Linked DNA regions of Homo sapiens: regions 1, 2, 3, 5 and 6 are each linked to region 4. The links are contacts of gene promoters, found by promoter capture Hi-C in blood cells and fetal thymus (Javierre and others, 2016). All regions are on one chromosome and are shown on one strand. The core of a region is centred on a gene start or on the middle of the fragment in contact, and the rest is flanking DNA. Distances in the headings are between cores, read along the strand shown.

The links. Contacts are between HindIII fragments. The CHiCAGO score rates a contact against its expected background, and 5 or more counts as called.
Region 1: a fragment that was not itself captured here is called in contact with the fragment with the promoter of UST in region 4 in 3 of 17 cell types (total B cells, naive B cells and megakaryocytes); the score reaches 7.9 in total B cells.
Region 2: a contact is called between a fragment that was not itself captured here and the fragment with the promoter of UST in region 4, in 3 of 17 cell types (total B cells, naive B cells and naive CD8 T cells). The highest score is 7.4, in total B cells.
Region 3: a contact is called between a fragment that was not itself captured here and the fragment with the promoter of UST in region 4, in 2 of 17 cell types (total B cells and naive B cells). The highest score is 6.2, in total B cells.
Region 5: a fragment that was not itself captured here is called in contact with the fragment with the promoter of UST in region 4 in 2 of 17 cell types (naive B cells and total B cells); the score reaches 8.5 in naive B cells.
Region 6: a contact is called between a fragment that was not itself captured here and the fragment with the promoter of UST in region 4, in 1 of 17 cell types (total B cells). The highest score is 6.1, in total B cells.

The regions. Positions count from the first base shown.
Region 1 is chr6:149,522,929-149,525,628 of GRCh38, forward strand. PPIL4 (peptidylprolyl isomerase like 4) reads right to left here. Exons shown (of 13, transcript NM_139126.4): 9 at 2,215-2,281. Among named protein-coding and RNA genes, the nearest start is that of PPIL4, 22 kb to the right of the region's middle. The HindIII fragment of the contact is 2,601 bases long and covers 105-2,700 here.
Region 2 is chr6:149,542,111-149,544,810 of GRCh38, forward strand. The region is part of intron 1 of PPIL4 (peptidylprolyl isomerase like 4); the gene reads right to left. Among named protein-coding and RNA genes, the nearest start is that of PPIL4, 2.6 kb to the right of the region's middle. The HindIII fragment of the contact is 1,724 bases long and covers 446-2,169 here.
Region 3 is chr6:149,371,872-149,374,571 of GRCh38, forward strand. All of the region lies in intron 2 of TAB2 (TGF-beta activated kinase 1 (MAP3K7) binding protein 2), which reads left to right. Among named protein-coding and RNA genes, the nearest start is that of SUMO4, 27 kb to the right of the region's middle. The HindIII fragment of the contact is 1,411 bases long and covers 628-2,038 here.
Region 4 is chr6:148,745,665-148,748,364 of GRCh38, forward strand. UST (uronyl 2-sulfotransferase) reads left to right here and starts at 1,366. Exons shown (of 8, transcript NM_005715.3): 1 at 1,366-2,013. The coding sequence starts at 1,767. RefSeq lists enhancers at 995-1,054, 1,115-1,194, 2,503-2,700 and silencers at 1,765-1,854, 2,155-2,324. The HindIII fragment of the contact is 11,485 bases long and covers 1-2,700 here.
Region 5 is chr6:149,416,970-149,419,669 of GRCh38, forward strand. No RefSeq gene overlaps it. Among named protein-coding and RNA genes, the nearest start is that of SUMO4, 18 kb to the left of the region's middle. The HindIII fragment of the contact is 4,936 bases long and covers 1-2,700 here.
Region 6 is chr6:149,498,377-149,501,076 of GRCh38, forward strand. No RefSeq gene overlaps it. Among named protein-coding and RNA genes, the nearest start is that of ZC3H12D, 15 kb to the left of the region's middle. The HindIII fragment of the contact is 7,040 bases long and covers 1-2,700 here.

The sequences.
Region 1 (2,700 bases), core at 155-2,654, 780 kb after region 4:
AATGGTGCTGTCACGTGGCAATCCAATGTATGAAAAACGAAACAATGTAATACAATACACCAAAAGCAAATTACAGAATTGAATGGGAAACAATTTCACAACAAAGCTTCTAAAAATAATACAGGAGAATATCCTCATGTCTTTGAAGTAGGAAAATATTTTTTAAATAGGCCACTAAAAAGGAAGAAAAATACTGACAACCTGAACCATTAAAATTAGAAATTTGTTTATAAAAAGACACCATTAAGAAAGGAAAAAGGCATGCCTGTGGTCCCAGTTATGCAGGAGCTAAAATTGGAGAATCACTTGAGCCCATGAGCTCAAGTCCAGCCTGGGCAACACAGAGTGATCCTGTCCCTTAAAAAACAAAAAAAAAGTAAAAGGAAATCCACAGAGAAGATATCTGTATCACACATAATCAAAAAAGAGCTTGCATCCAGAAAATATAAAGAATCCTTAGAGATCAATAAAAAAGTAAAACAGCAGGTGCAGTGGCTCAAGCCTATAATTCCAGCACTTTGGGAGGCCAAGGCAGGTGGATCACTTAAGGTCAAGAGTTCAAGACCAGCCTGGCCAACATCATAAAACCCTGTATCTACTAAAAATTCAAAAATGAGCCAGGTGTGGTGGCAAGCACCTGTAATCCCAGCTACTTGGGATGCTGAGGCATGAGAATCGCTTGAAACTGGGAGGCGGAGGTTGCAGTGAGCTGAGATCATGCGACTACACTCCAGCCTGGGTGACAAAGCAAAACTCTGTTTCAAAAAAATAAAAAGAAAAAAAAAAAAGAAGAAAATGGCATAGCTGCAAAAAACTCAAAACATGGGCAGTCATTAGTCTATGTGCTACAAATGAAATTTTATTTGTGAGAAAATAAATAATAGATTCTATAGTGTCAATGATAGAATGCTAGTGCAGGTCTACAAGTTTTCACAGCAAACCAAAGGTAAAGGTCTTTCTGCTGGCACCAATGTACCTTGTAAGTATCATTTCTGGTACATCTGACACAGTGCCTACATATAACTTTATGGTCTATCTTCCCCAACCCTCCATGATTCATCTTGTATCCCTAGGCCTTATTGCTGTGTCTGAAAACATAAAAGGTATTCCATAAATGCTTTGTAATAATTAGAACTTAGAATGAGCTACTACTGGATACATATGAGTCCAAAGTTGCATTAAAAAAGAGCATACCATAGCACAGTGTAAACTCAATGGGAACAGAATCAGACATATCTGAGTTCAAATCCCAGCTATGACATTCATTCACTAGGTGTGTGATTTTGAACAAGTCACATTAGCATTATGTGTCTCAGTTAACTTATTTGGAAAAGGGGATGGTCCCTATCTTACAGAACTGTGAGGATTAAATGCAGCAAAAGTAACATAATGCCTAGCTTAAAGTAAATATTTAAGCAACATAAGCTATCATTATTACAGCTCTAGAAGGGGCCATCTATTCTAATACCCAAGTTTTATTTATAAGAAGGTAAGACCTAGAAAGAACGGTTAACTAAACTGCCAAGTATCATACAATAGCTGGCTAATAACAAAAGATGTATTAATATCTAAATCTTAACACCCAGTTCAGTTCTCTTTCTATTACTCAACTTTATCTCCACTTAAGTAACAGGGAAAAATTAAGAGTCTCTGAAGGGCTTTACTTAGAACTTAAAAAGTTCTAAGATTGGCTGAGTGTTGTGGCTTATGCCTATAATCCCAGCACTTTGGGAGGCCGAGGCAGGTGGATTGCTTGAGGTCAGGAGTTCAAGACCAGCCTGGCCAATATGGTGAAACCCTGTCTCTACTAAAAATACAAAAAAATTAGCAGGGCATGGTGGTGGGCACCTGTAATCCCAGCTACTGGGGAGGCTGAGGCAAGAGAATCGCTTGAACCAGGAGGCGGAGGCTGCAGTGAGTCGAGACTGCGCCACTGCACTCCAGCCTGGGCAACAGAGTGAGACCCTGTCTCAAAAAAAAAAAAAGTTCTAAAGATACTTTCATGCAGATTGCACCTGAACCTAAAGTAAAAGTACGTATGTTAACATCAACAGATGTTGAACTTATCCCCTATATAGATACAATAAACTTAATTTTGGGGAGTGCCAAAAGAAAGGGCAACTCTAGAAACTAGAAAAAGTTCTATAATTTTTCACATTTTAATACCATATAAAAGCAAATAAATACCAAACTTATGTCTGTATTATGACATACCTTTTCAAATTCAATAAAAGCGTAACAGAGGGACTCTCCTGTCTTCCAGTCTCGGATAACTTCACAACTGAAAGAAAGTATTTAAAAGTGACTTAAAAAAAAAAAAAAGGAAGAAAGCATTCACTCTCACTCTTCAAAACTGAAGAAGAAATAAGTCAGTTACTACAAGGCAAAGTTAAATTCATAGATTATTTTTCCAAATTCATTTAATAACAATTCTTTTTTAAAAGTAGTTCACCAGAGCAGTAACTAAATTATCTAAATTCTACTCTAAGTGCCTTATATAGGCCTACAGTCCTAAATTCCCTTAAGCACTGAAGTAAGAATAAAAATATTTAATTTTCCTTTGGCAAAAGTAAACTACTGCTAAAGACTTTTAAAATCACAACACTTTTCTAGTCCAAATATAGTCGAATTATAGAATATCTAACATCTAACATTACTGTAGAATAATGTATGCATACTCATACATATATAAATGTTTAA
Region 2 (2,700 bases), core at 58-2,557, 800 kb after region 4:
ATCTGGGCTAATACAGAAAACTGACACTTATAAGCAATCATTTACTGATGGATTGATTTTATTACGAGAAAAAAGAACACTTAAAGAGCATATTGTAGTAGAAAAGGATCTAGCAGAATATATAAAAATGGATACGGATTATATCAATTAGGAAAAAGTCAAACACCCGGGGTCATTTTTTAAATAATAGTTAAACAGCCCTTTATAAAAATCCATACACTTATGAACAACCTTTCTCATACAAGTTAATCTGCTTATCCAATAAACATTTACTGAGTACCTTCTAGATGCCTGACACTGCCATCACAAATGCCATTAAACTGTGGTCCCTGCTCCCAAAAAGTTCACAGTCTAGTCGTGGAAAGACACATTAACAAGCTCTTAAGGCACTAAGTTAGAAACCAAACAGACAGTAAGATATATGAGGCAATCCCTGCCCTCAAAAAGCTTACATTAAATTAGGGTCCTTACATCTGAACACAAGTAGTTACATACTGGGCATATCTAATTAATAACATGTGTGCCACTTATTTAAAATGGTAAAAAAAGTAGTTTTAAAAATTCCACAAGAGTTCAAAAGATTGTTTCTGGCTAGGGAAATTAGAAAACCTCAGGGAAGGTTAAGGCAAGCATTAAAAGAACTGGACTAGCAGAGAGTGAAGGGTGAGCATTTTAGGTCTGGAAGACTATGAAAAGGCCTGGAAGTGGAAATTTAAATGTTTTAGGGGAGGTCCAAAACACCAAAGTTCTGTAATAGTCTGGTATTACACAGTAATAGAGCATGAAAAGACTGGAGAGATAAGATGGGGCTGAGCTGTTGAAGAGTGCTGAATATCAGTCTTGCAGTTGTTTTTCTTGAATATATTTCTGGGCTTCATGTTTAACAGATAGGGGTGGTCCTTTTACTAGAAACAAAAATAATGAATTTAGGCAATGATCATCAATGGCTGCCAAAATCTTTAGGTCTTTCATCAAAATCCGATGGGAACAATTTATAAGCGCAACAAGGCCTTAACCCACTGACCAATTTTAACATCACAGAGCCAACCAGACATCAAGTGCCTCCTGAATGTGATGCAGCTGAAAGTACACACTATCTTATATGAAATATTCTTGCCAAAAACATTAAACTGGAACCTAATCAAGGCTCTGAAGCTAAAGAACAATTTATAGGAAACAGGGGACACAAAAATATGTTAACGCACCCAGTAAATAATCAGTCGAATCCAAACAAGAGAAATTCTACAAGACAAAGCACCCAGGTTGTTTCTCAAAATTTTTTCAAGGAAAAAAGGGGGAGAACCAATAGATTAAAACATATATGAGACATTTTAACCAATATATGGACTTTGGGTCCTAATTTAAATCACCATATTTTTTAGAAGTTTATGAGATAATAAGAAAGTTTAAATGATACTAAAAATTATTGCTAGTTTTTTCAAAGTGTGATAAGATCTGTGGTTCTGTTTTTTTATTCTTTTTTACAACTTTTTCTCTTTCCTTTAGTATTTTTCCCTTTTCCCTGTCAAGTTTTTTTTCTTTTTTAACCTGTCACTTATGTGGTACTTAAGCTCATAGTTCCATTTTTTCTTGTTTTTTTTAAAGAGACGTTATATTTTAGAAATACATACTGAAGTAATTACAGATTAAATAGATGCACTGGAGGTGGGGGTATTATAAATGAAGCAAGATTGGCTATGTGTTCACAGCTGTTAAACAAAGCTGGTCATGTGGACATGAGAGTTCATTTACATGATTCTCTCTACATCTGTGTTTTAAATTTTCTATAATAAAAAGTTAAAAAAGAAAAGGAAGAAAGAATGGAAGGTAGGTAAGTCTGGATATGTTGATCATAGATTGATAAGTGAGTATAAATATAGCAGGTACACATGTAAGCACATCTCCAGTCATATGCTTACAAATATGTACAGGGGGTGGACTTATTGTTATGGGCTTATCTTTGCAGACCCACTGCTTGTTAATTGGGTGGGGTAGCTCTACACCCCTTTATTTCCTCATAACTCTGGGAAAAGAGGCCCATTTATTTTGCCAGGTGCTACTCTACATGGGCAGAGCGTCAAAGGAACTCAAAGAAAAGCAAAATCAAGAGATAAAAAACAAAATTCCCTATGATATTCTTTGAAACACTCGATCCAGCCACTCGATCCAAGCTTACCCCAGTATTATGAGGCAACCAATTATTTTGTTTATGCCAGTTTGAGTTGGGTTTCTATCACTTGAACAAAGGGTCCTAACTAATACAACACATTTATATCCATTAGTCATCATAATGAACCTCTAGTGTGTGCCCTAAAAGTAGCAGACATTGTACTGGGTACTCAGGATATAGAGATGATAATTATGGTATAGTTCCTGCTCTCATTGGAGTTTACATTCTTGAGCGAGGGCACGCTTGTAAACAACACCAGGATAATAGGTAAATGTTAAAATAAAATGTGTCATGTGGTTTATAAAAGACCTAAGACACAGCAGAGGAACCCTCAGGTAACTCTGCTTAGAAAGGAGGGAGAGCTTCAAAGAAGAGATGATGCTTGATCTGAGATTTAGATAATAAGTAGTAAGTTTGCCAGAAGGACAATAGTGGAGAAGAATATTGTTTAGAAGAAACAGCAAAAGAATGGTAACAATGGTACGGGAGAGTTTGTAGTGTTTTCGCCAGGTGGAGAGGAGGGAGGAATA
Region 3 (2,700 bases), core at 83-2,582, 630 kb after region 4:
AGTTAAAAGAAAGTGTGGGAAAGGAGCGGAGATAGTGGGGAAAAATAGTCTCCCCCCTAGAACCCAAGTAACTTCTCCCTAACTTTTCAAGTAAAAGAGAATTTTGTGGTAAAATAAAGCTATGCTGTTCAGTAGGTTATTAAAAAACTAACAGAAAGATACTGTAAGTTCTTTGATAAATTTCTGTAGACTTCGTATTGAAAGAACTGTCCAGAGCATTTCCCTACATATAGTACAGGTATAGAGATTTTGAAATACCGTAACTGGGAGTAAAACATAGAGCCTTTTGTAGAATTACTTTAAAATATTTTCAAAAAAAAAATAGAGCACTCTAATGTACTCTTACAGTATAATCTCTGGTATGTGTTAAGAAAAACAAGATGCAGAGCAGAGTATATAGACAGAGCAAGACAAATAAATATTTACACATCCATGTATTTGTCTCTGTTTGCATAAAGAAATACTGGAAGAATTAAAAACAAAATTAATAAAAGATGTTTATCCATGGTAGGCCAGAGGGAACAGGCCTGATGGGACAGAGTTAGGACTCAGACTTCTCAACAGGTATCTTTTTTTTATTGTTTTAATCTGTGTTAATAAATTATCTATTTAAAAATAAAATAATTAAGCTTTAACCCAAAAATAAAAAATGAATGGTTTTCCGTTTCCTTTGGGCATCTAGTAATATCACCTTCCCTATGTTAATCTGGCTTTACAAAAGCAAACTCCTCTACTTAGCATGCTTCCCAACACCTGGTGTTAATGAAAATGAAATACTTTGCTTGCCTGAAACAGACCACACTTTTTAAAAGTGAGTTGATAATAATTTAGGGTATCCAGGTAATGTACTTTTTAGCTGATATAACAAGAAATCTGACAAGAAAGGAATAGGAAGAGCTCCTTCCTCTGTGGTTTCAGCTGGGGTGCAAGTTTTCCCAAATTTAGAGCAATATTTTTAAACGGGCAAATTAAGCTACCTCTAAATGACAGCGTCTCTTTTGGGGCTGCTCTTCCTTTCTCAGTTGGGTGGGTTTCTGTTCTTTTGACAGATCCTTCCTGCAGTATACTGGTTCAGAACTTTTTAAAATTAGTAAAGGATCATGCCATGCTACCAATTCTGTGTACCTGTTCTTTTTAAACATCTTGCTTGTCAGGGAGAGAACAAAAGTGTCTATCCTCTTTTCTCTTAAGTTTATCTGTTGCACAGTTCCCTCTTTTTGGAACTACTCATATCTTTTCCTTCTGCTGTGAATTCTGTAAGATAACTTATAACCAGCAGGTGTAATTTATATCTTTAAAGTTGATTTTTATATTTGGTAATTAAATCTGAAAACTTAGAAGAATGTGAAAATATTGCATAGTTTTCACTTTGGTTTTTTAACTTAATTTTTTACCGTTTTTAAATTCTCTTAACATGACGATTGAATCTGTAAGTTTAAAATTGGTATTTCTTTTCAAAGTACTGCATTAAGTATTTTTCATTCAGTATATGCAACACTTAATATTTAAGTGCCATGTACTTAGTGGAACCTTCTCAGATGACCTTCACCCATTGTCCTTATCCATATTTCTATGATAACACCTACCATACTGCATTTCATTTGTGTTCACATTATTCTCCTCCACTAGACTGAGATTCTTGCGATCAGCGATCATATTCCTTTCTCCTTGCTAATGAATGCTCAGTAAATGTTGGTTAAAGGAGTGAATGAATGCCATAGGGTATATATGCTTTGATACTATCTGTAATTTCTGTGTCTGTGCAGGAGTTTGGGGAAAAATGAAAGAGGAACTGGAATTAATGATTCAGACCTTTTTATAGCTTTGAGGAGAATGCAGATTTGTGGCTGTATACCAAAAAGCAGTGATTTTCCACCTTCTAAAAACTCATATCCCACCCCTTTTGATACACTTCAAGAGAGTCTTCTACCCTTTCTCACTAAAAGTAACCAGGGCTGCTTTGAGAAATGGCTGATTGCAAGTCTGGAGTAGATGTACATGATAAGCTAGAACATCTTGTCATATCAGAAAGCAGAGAAGCTTTGAAAAACTACTGGATTCATGTCGTATACCGAGGAGCCAACTTGAAGCTGTTCCCAGTAACTTGAAGAGGGGACATAATGACCAAAACTGATTGAAACACATCAAAATATTAAAGACACATGAGTTTATAATGATACTAAAAATAAATCATAGTCACCTTTGGAGGTTGCTAGGGACCAAATTTGTTACTCTGAAAACTAGTGAAAAGAATTTTTTTATCCTGCCTCTTCTGTGCAGAATGTAACCAAATAGTTGAAGAGAGCAAGCATTCAAGGAAGAATTGCTGCTAAGAATGAAGATGAAATCCATTTTATGTTTTTTGGAGACTGGGTCTCGCTCTCACCCAGGCTGGAATGCAGCAGTGGGATGATCATGGCTTACTGCAGCCTCAACCTCCTGGGTTCAAGTGCTCCTGCTACTTCAGCCTTCTGAGTAGCTGGGGCTGCAGGTGTCCTACTCTACCTGGCTAATTAAAAACAAGATTTTTTTTTAGAGACAGGGTCTCACTATGTTGCCCAGTCTGGTGTCAAACTCCTGGGCCCAGCGATCATCCCGCCTTGGCCTCCCAAAACGCTGGGATTACAGGGGTGAGCCACTGCGCCTGGCCAAAATCTTATAATTGGGACATTCCAGTATTACTGTTTAGCACCCCTAATG
Region 4 (2,700 bases), core at 116-2,615:
TCACACGATTCTCCTGCCTCAGCCTCCTGAGTAGCTGAGGTTAAGACATATTCTTAACGAGTAAGTTCTTTGTCTAGGATAATATTTTGTAATTTTCCACAGAATATTCTTCAGATGCCTAACTTGATGAAGGTTTTCAGGAGCCTAGTCTTAGAATCATAGAGGTTCTTGGCTCCTGGTTCCTTCTTAAATCCAATTGTTCATTACTGGAATATACAAATGAGTAGGGAGCCAGAAATGATAGGCACCAGAAACTGAGGTTTCCATTTCTCAATGTGGCCTGAACTAAATGAATTAAATCTCATCCTCCTATGGGACGTGAAGGAAAAGGGCTCTGGCTGGGAAGTACTGCTGTGCAGTGGTTAGTATAGTGGGTCTGAGGGTCAAATAGATTTGAGTGCAACTCCCAACCCAACTCCTACTACTAGCTTTGGGACCTCGGGTGAGTCACACAGCCCTCAGGTGCTACAGCTTCTATAAATAGTGATATAGTATTCTTACTTAAAGTGTGGCTGATCAGAGCAGCCCTTCCGTGGATCAACCACCCCATCAGAGGATCTATGTCTAGGATTGAGCCTTTTCTGCCCCAGGAGGTTCTTTCAGGTCCAGAGGCTTTCCCGTGGAGGGAAGAGAGGCAGCAATGAAATCAGCGTATAGGCGGACTGGGCTCTTTCCCCTTCATGTCTGCAGGGCAATGACCTCCTAGAGTCCGCTATGCACCCCCCACTTGCCTCTCTGGGCACTGCGAGGTGGAGCAGTTGTAGGACCAGGAAAAGCAAGAACAGAGCGTCCTCTTCGGCTACCCTACCCGGGAGTTCAGGCGCTGCGCCTGGCCCTCTGGGGCGTGTTTGACCATAACTCGCACCGCTTGCTCTTTTCCCATTTCAGCAAAGTCTTGAGCCTGTATTCTAGTACCTTTTATCAGCCTTGGGTAAGCAGCTCGCACGGGGTATATAAGGAGAATCAACTTTCTGAACTGAAAAAAATGTAAATAGTAAAGTCAGTCGTGCTTCTTCCTGCCGGTGACTGTTTACAAGAGGGAAGTCAGCGGGGCCCCCAAGAGGTCGCTGGTGGCGCAGGAACCGCATCCAGATTGTAAAGAACGGGGGAAGGAAAAAAAAAGAAAACACCCAGAAACTTTCTTCCTTGTTGCGAATAATCGCCGCCTCCCCCCCTCCGCCCCCAGCAGAAGCAGTAACGTGACACCCGAGCGAAATCCCGAGACCCGAGCGGAGAGGGAGGGGAGAGGGAGGAGAGTGCTGCGGAGCGCCGGAGGGAGAAAGGGGAGGAGAAGGAGGAAAACCCCTGTCAAGGAGGTGGAGCGAGGGGATGGTGTCCGCCTCCTGTTCCTCCCTGCCGTTTTTTAGAGAAGCCTGAACCGGGACAAAACACGCCGAGACCTACAGACACAAAGCCGGGGGGTCCACGCTGGCGCTGGAGGCGAGCCCCGGCGGCCGCAAGCGAGCCCGAGGCGCGGCGGGGCGCGGGGCGTGGGGACGCTAGCGGGCGCCGGACGGGCGCGGCGCCCCGTCACGGGCAGCGCCCCGAACCGGGGCCGGACACCTCGGCCGCTCGGGCCGCGGCGGCGGGGACCATGCCGAAGAAAGTCTCCTGAGCCCGGCAACTTCGGCCCCTCCCCGCCCCCACCCGGCTGCCCTCCGCGCGGCCCTCCCCATGTGCAGCCGGCCAGCCGGGCTCTCCTCCTCGCGGCGGATGGGTGACCTTTTCCTGGCACGGGCAGGCTGTGGGAGGCAGCGGAGCAGGCGATGAAGAAGAAGCAGCAGCATCCCGGCGGCGGCGCGGATCCCTGGCCCCATGGGGCCCCTATGGGGGGCGCCCCTCCGGGCCTGGGCAGCTGGAAGCGTCGGGTGCCCCTGCTGCCTTTCCTGCGCTTCTCCCTCCGGGACTACGGCTTCTGCATGGCCACCCTGCTGGTCTTCTGCCTGGGCTCCCTCCTCTATCAGCTCAGCGGGGGACCCCCTCGCTTCCTGCTCGACCTGCGGCAGTACTTGGGTAAGGAAGCTGGGCAGGCGCTAGGGCGGCGCCGACAGCGCAAAGTTGTGCGGCGGGGAGAGGGTCGCGGCGGGGACTTCTCGCGCTGCCACCGCGCGCCGCCGCCGCCCCGGGTCTCTCCAGGTGCTAAGCCCGTGAGCATCTGTGCCGCGGTCGGGAGCGCCTTCTTCCTCCCGCGCGTCCGACTGTCCTCACCGAGGCGGGGGCGCCGCTGGGTTGCGCTGCCGGCAGGTACCCCGGGGCGAGGCACCGCTCACCTTCCCCCCGCCCCACCTCCGCCACCCGGATCCGGACTGGGGCGGAGTGGATGGGTGTGTGGGGTGTGCCGGAGTGTGTGTATCTTCAGGCCTGGCGGCGCGGGGAGTGGCGAAGGGAAGGGAAGGTCCTCTTCGTTGCATTGTTAGTGACCGCAGTTCAGTCCCGTCCCGCGCCCCGGGGAGTGTGGGTGGGTTTAGCCCTTTGCCACCGTCCGCTCTGAGAATTCTGTCCCGCAGATCCCCCGCCTGCCCGCCGGCCCTAGTGGCTCCGCGCTGTCCCCGGGCTGGCTTGTCCCTTGGCTGCCGCTGCCCACCCCGCCGCCCGCAGCTAGCCTGGCGCGGGGAACGGGTTGCATCCAGGGGTTTGGGGATGCCCGAGGGCGCTGGTCAGCCTGGCCAGCAGTGTCGCCCCCAGTAACCCGAGGATCCT
Region 5 (2,700 bases), core at 135-2,634, 670 kb after region 4:
GTCAAAATATCAACACTAATAGGAGTTTGAAAGCAGTTGATTTCAACCCTCGTGGATGACTTTGAGGGGTTCAAGACTTCAGTGGAGGAAGTCACCGCAGGTGTGGAAATAGCAAGAGAACTAGAATTAACAGTGGAGCATGAAGATGGGACTGAATTGCACTCTCATGATCAAAGTTGAACAAATAAAGAGTTGCTGTTTATGGACGAGAAAAAGTGGTATCTTGAGATGGAATCTCCTCCTGACGAAGATGCTGTGAACGCTATTGAAATGACAACAAAGGATTTAGGATATTACATAAACTTAGTTGATAAGCAGCCACAGGGTTTGAGAGGATTGACTCCACGTTACTGTGGGTAAAATGCTACCAAACAGCATCACATTCTACAGAGAAATCTTTCATGAAAGAAAGAGTCAGTCGATGCAGCCAGCTTCATTGTTGTCTTATTTTAAGAAATTGCCCCAGTCACCCCATCCTTCAGCAGCCACCACCCTGATCGGTCAGCAGCCATCACCCTGATCAATCAGCGGCCATCAAGACCCTCCACCAGCAAGAAGATTATGACTTGCTGAAGGCTCAGATGATTGTTAACATTTCTTAGCAATAAAGTATTTTTAATTAAGGAATGTACATTTTGTTTTTAGACATAATGCTATTGCACACTTAATAGGCTGCAGAATAGTGTAAACAATTTTATGTGCACTGGGAAACCAAAAAATTCATGTGACTGACTGTATTGTGATACCCACCTTATTATGGTGGTCTGGAACCAAACCTGCAATATCTCCAAGGTATGACTGTCAGGACAGGTGTGTCTTTGTGTCCCCATAGCAAATAACTTCATACATGGCAAAAGGTCAGTAGTTGATGATGATTCTTTTTTTATTTAAGATAGGGTATCACTGTTTTGCCCATCCTGGACTTCTAGGCTCAAGCTATTCTCCCACCTCAGCCTCCCAAGTAGCTGGGACTACAAACGTGCCCCACCGCACCCAGACTTGATGATAACGACTCTTAACATGAAGGCCAAGTTAATTTCTAACATTTATTCAAGTTAACCAGTGGGTACAGCCATTTTGAATGTAGTATGTATTTTCCCCTAGAACTAGTATTAGAAGCAGTAGGTTCCCAGGCCAGCCCACTAATTAGCTGGAACGCTTTGCATTTGGAAAACTGAAATAAGGCACAATCATACTATTGGGATAGATAAATGTAACAATGAAACCCAAAAATAATGTTTCTGGTATCTTCTGTGTGGTGCCAGAGGGGGATGAAGAAGTAGAGATCTTTGTGGATATTCTGGAAAATTCAGAAATTGGCATTTCAACCTGAGGCCTCTGTTACATCTAACTTTACTTCAAATTTTAAAGTTTGCTTTTTCATGGACCAAAGTGTTTGAGTGGCTTCTTCTTAGACATAATGAATGTCCTTTTTTGTTTTTCTTCAAAATTGAAGCAGAGGGACATGGGAGAATATTTTTCTGGAGAACACTGGTCAAGAGAAGAGGAAAGAAAGAAGAAAATTAAATGCAAAGTATGTAAAAATCCTGTCTTATTCTTTCCCAAGAAAGGTGAAGAGACAGGCTTCTGACTAAACGATGAGCAGCAGAGAGCAGGGACTCTCACTGGTTAAACTCCACTGGGTCTGATAGCCAACACATTGCCTGAGAGTGAGTGACATGAAACAAGCCCACATTTTATTAATCTGAATTGAAGTCTTAACTACTACCTTTTGGTTTTTAACACAAGTCTTTCACGTGCCCTTTTGCTGAACTGCCAAATTCTTTTTGTAATAAAACAGCATACACATCTTAGAACACCAATTTGCTAACCCAGACAACCAAGCTCTGCTAAGGTAATGAATGAGAAGCAATATATGCAGTTTCCATTCCAGTGAATGATAATAGGTGATTTTTGTTATGAAGTATCTCAAAGCATGATTATATTCAATATCGAATGACAAAAACACACAGCAAAGATTTTTAAACTTCCACCTGTATTGCTCTCTTTATTAACCATAATCTCTTTCTTTTCTACTGTTTATTATGTTTTGTTTTGTTTTTGTTTTGAGACAGAGTCTAGCTCAGCCACCCAGACTGGAGTGCAGTGGCGCGATCTCGGCCCACTGCAACCACTGTCTTCTGGGTTCAAGCGATTCTCCTGTCTCAGCCTCTTGAGTAGCTAGGATTACAGGCACCTGCCATCATGCCCAGCTAATTTTTGTATTTTAGTAGAGACGGGGTTTCACCATGTTGGCCAGACTGATCTTGAACACGTGACCTTAAGTGATCCGCCCACCTCGGCCTCCCAAAGTGCTGGGATTACAGGCATGAGCCACTGCGCCTGGCCTCTGTTTATTATTAATATGCTAACAGTTAACAGGTAACTACTGGCTTCACATTACAAGAAACAAGGGGCTCCCAAATTTGGAAACGAGTAAAGAATAAGTAGTACTCACTGAAAACCTTAGGCCAACTGTCATTTTGTCCTTTTGATTCCAGTTTGTGCTAAGGTAGCAATAGTAATTTCTCAGTTCTCAATCTGCACAATCATCTTTATATTTCAAAAATTTCACATTTTGAATTTGCTACTTCCTCCTTTTGCTAGTCTTCCTAATCTTAGCCACATTCTCTCATTTTCTTCACTGCTTTATACCCTGCTTCCAGCTTAGGTCTGGCACATAGTAGGTGGGCAACAAAT
Region 6 (2,700 bases), core at 68-2,567, 750 kb after region 4:
AAAATTAAAAGTATGAGAAAAATTTCGGAAGCTAGTGCTCGGCAGAGTTCTTACTTTTGACACCAAAAGCACAATCCATAAAAGGAAAAACTGATAAACTGCAGAAAAATTAAAATCTTGTACTCTACAAAACTCTATTAAAAGACAGGCCATACATTGGAGGCTAGGCATGGTGACTCATACCTGTAATCCCAGCATTTTGGGAGGCCAAAGCGGGAGAACTGCTTGAGACCAGGAGTTTGAGACCAGCCTGGGCAACATAGGGACCTCGTTTCCACTAATAATAAAAAAAAAAAATTAGCTGGCTGTGGTGGCAGGCACCTGTAGTCCCAGCTACTAAGAGGCTGAGGTGGGAGGATTGCTTGAGCCCTGGAGGTTGAGGCTGCAGTGAACTGTGATCTCACCACTGTACTCCAGCCTGAGTGACAGAGCGAGACTGTCTTAAAAAAGAAAAAAAAAGAAAGACAAGCTATATATTGGGAGGAAACAGCTGCAAGCAACATATCTGACAAAGAACTAGTATGTAGAATACATAAAGAACTCTCAAAACTCAAAAATAAAAAAAAACCTAAAAATCCAATTAGATATAAAGTAACATTTCACCTAACAGGATATGCAGATGGCAAAATGAGTACATGAAAAGATACTCAACAACATTACCAATTAAAGAAATAAAAATTAAAACCAGAGTAAGTTATATATCTATCACTATATACCTACCAGAATGCCTAAAATAAAACACAGAGACACAACTAAATGTTGTTGAGAATGCGGATGAAGTGGATCGCCCATATGTTCTTGGTGGGAATGTAAAGCAGTCTGACTCACCCAGGAAAACAGTTCAGCAGTTTCTTTAAATATGCAATTATCATATGACCTAACAACTGCACTACTGGGCAGTTATCCAGAAGAAATGAAGACTGTGTTCACAAAGAAACTAACAGCAGCTTTACTCATTACGGTCCCAAACTGTAAACAACCCAGATGTCCTTCAATGGGTGAATGGTTAAACAAACTACAGTATATTCATACCATGAAATACTACTCAACAATAAAAGTGAACTATTGGCCAGGTACAGTGGCTCACACCTGTAATCCTAGCACTTTGGGAGGCTGAGGCGGGTGGATCACCTGAGGTCAGGAGTTCGAGACCAGCCTGGCCAACATGGCGACACTCCGTCTCTACTAAAAATACAAAAATTAGCCAGGCATAGTGGTGTGCGCCTGTAATCCCAGCTACTAGGGAGACCGAGGCAGAAGAATTGCTTGAACCCAGGAGGCAGAGGCTGCAGTGAGCTGAGATGGCGCCACTGCACTCCAGCCTGGGCAACGAGACTCCATCCCAAATAAATAAATAAAACAAAATAAAATAAAAGTGAACTATTGATACAGCAACAAACTGGAAGAATCTCTGAAGAATAAGGCTGACTGGGGCAAAACAAACCCAATCCCAAAAAGGGATTTGGTTTATAATCCTGTAAGACACAATCTCGAACACCTTAATCCTGAATGGTGAAATCCCAAAAGATCAAAATGCCTAATCTAAAATCCATAATGTCTAAAATCCCAAAAATCACAATCAGAGGATACTGGCATCATGATAGGTAGAACTACAACTTTCTCATTGTCTTTATTTGGAAATTAAGTACGGTTTAAGGAGGTATGTATGGGTGCTGAGTTGATAAGAGGTGTTCTTTGGGACTTAATTTTAGGTGTCAAGTTGATTGGATTAAGGAACACCTAGAAACTTATTAGTGTTTTGAGTGTGTCTGTGCAAGTGTTTCCAGAGATTAGCATCTGAGTGAAGCCAGTGGAAGACACTGGTTGTTCTTAAAGTATTTCAAATGACTGCAGTTATAAAGCTGAGCATACACAATTACCAACCACAGGGCTATGCATTGATACATTTCCCTTTTTGACCTATTTCTTTATAAATACCACTCATCTGTTCATAACTGTCATACCCATGTGACTGTCATTAGTAGAGCTGAGAACTGCTTATGCTTGCAAACATACGTATGTTATTGTTGCCTATTTTATTGTGTAAAGTGGCCTGTGTTTGTATTTCTCAAATCCTCTTTTAAAAATGTGAATAATCAGCCAGGTGCAGTGGCTCATGCCTGTAATCCCAGCACTTTGGGAGGCTGAAGCAGGCAGATCACGAGGTCAGGAGATCGAGACCATCCTGGCTAACACAGTGAAACCCCGTCTCTACTAAAAATACAAAAAAAATTAGCTGGGCATGGTGGCGGGTGCCTGTAGTCCCAGCTACTCGGGAGGCTGAGGCAGGAGAATGGCGTGAACCCGGGAGGCAGAGCTTGCAGTGAGCCAAGATCGTGCCACTGCACTCCAGCCTGGGTGACAGAGCAAGACTCCATCTCAAAAAAAAAAAAAAAAAAAAAAAAGTTAATAACCTGAAGTCAGGGGTTTGAGACCAGCCTGGCCAACATGGTGAAACCCCATCTCTACTAAAAATACAAAAATTAGCCGGGCATGGTGGCGCACACCTGTAGTCCCAGCTACTTGGGAGGCTGAGGCAGGAGAATCACTCGAACCTGGGAGGTAGATGTTGCAGTGAGCTGAGACTGTGCCACTGCACTACAGCCTGGGCAACAGAGTAAGACTCCATCTCAAAACAAACAAACAAACAAAATGTAAATAAATATCTTTTAAAGGTTTTTAAAATTATTCTTTCCAGAA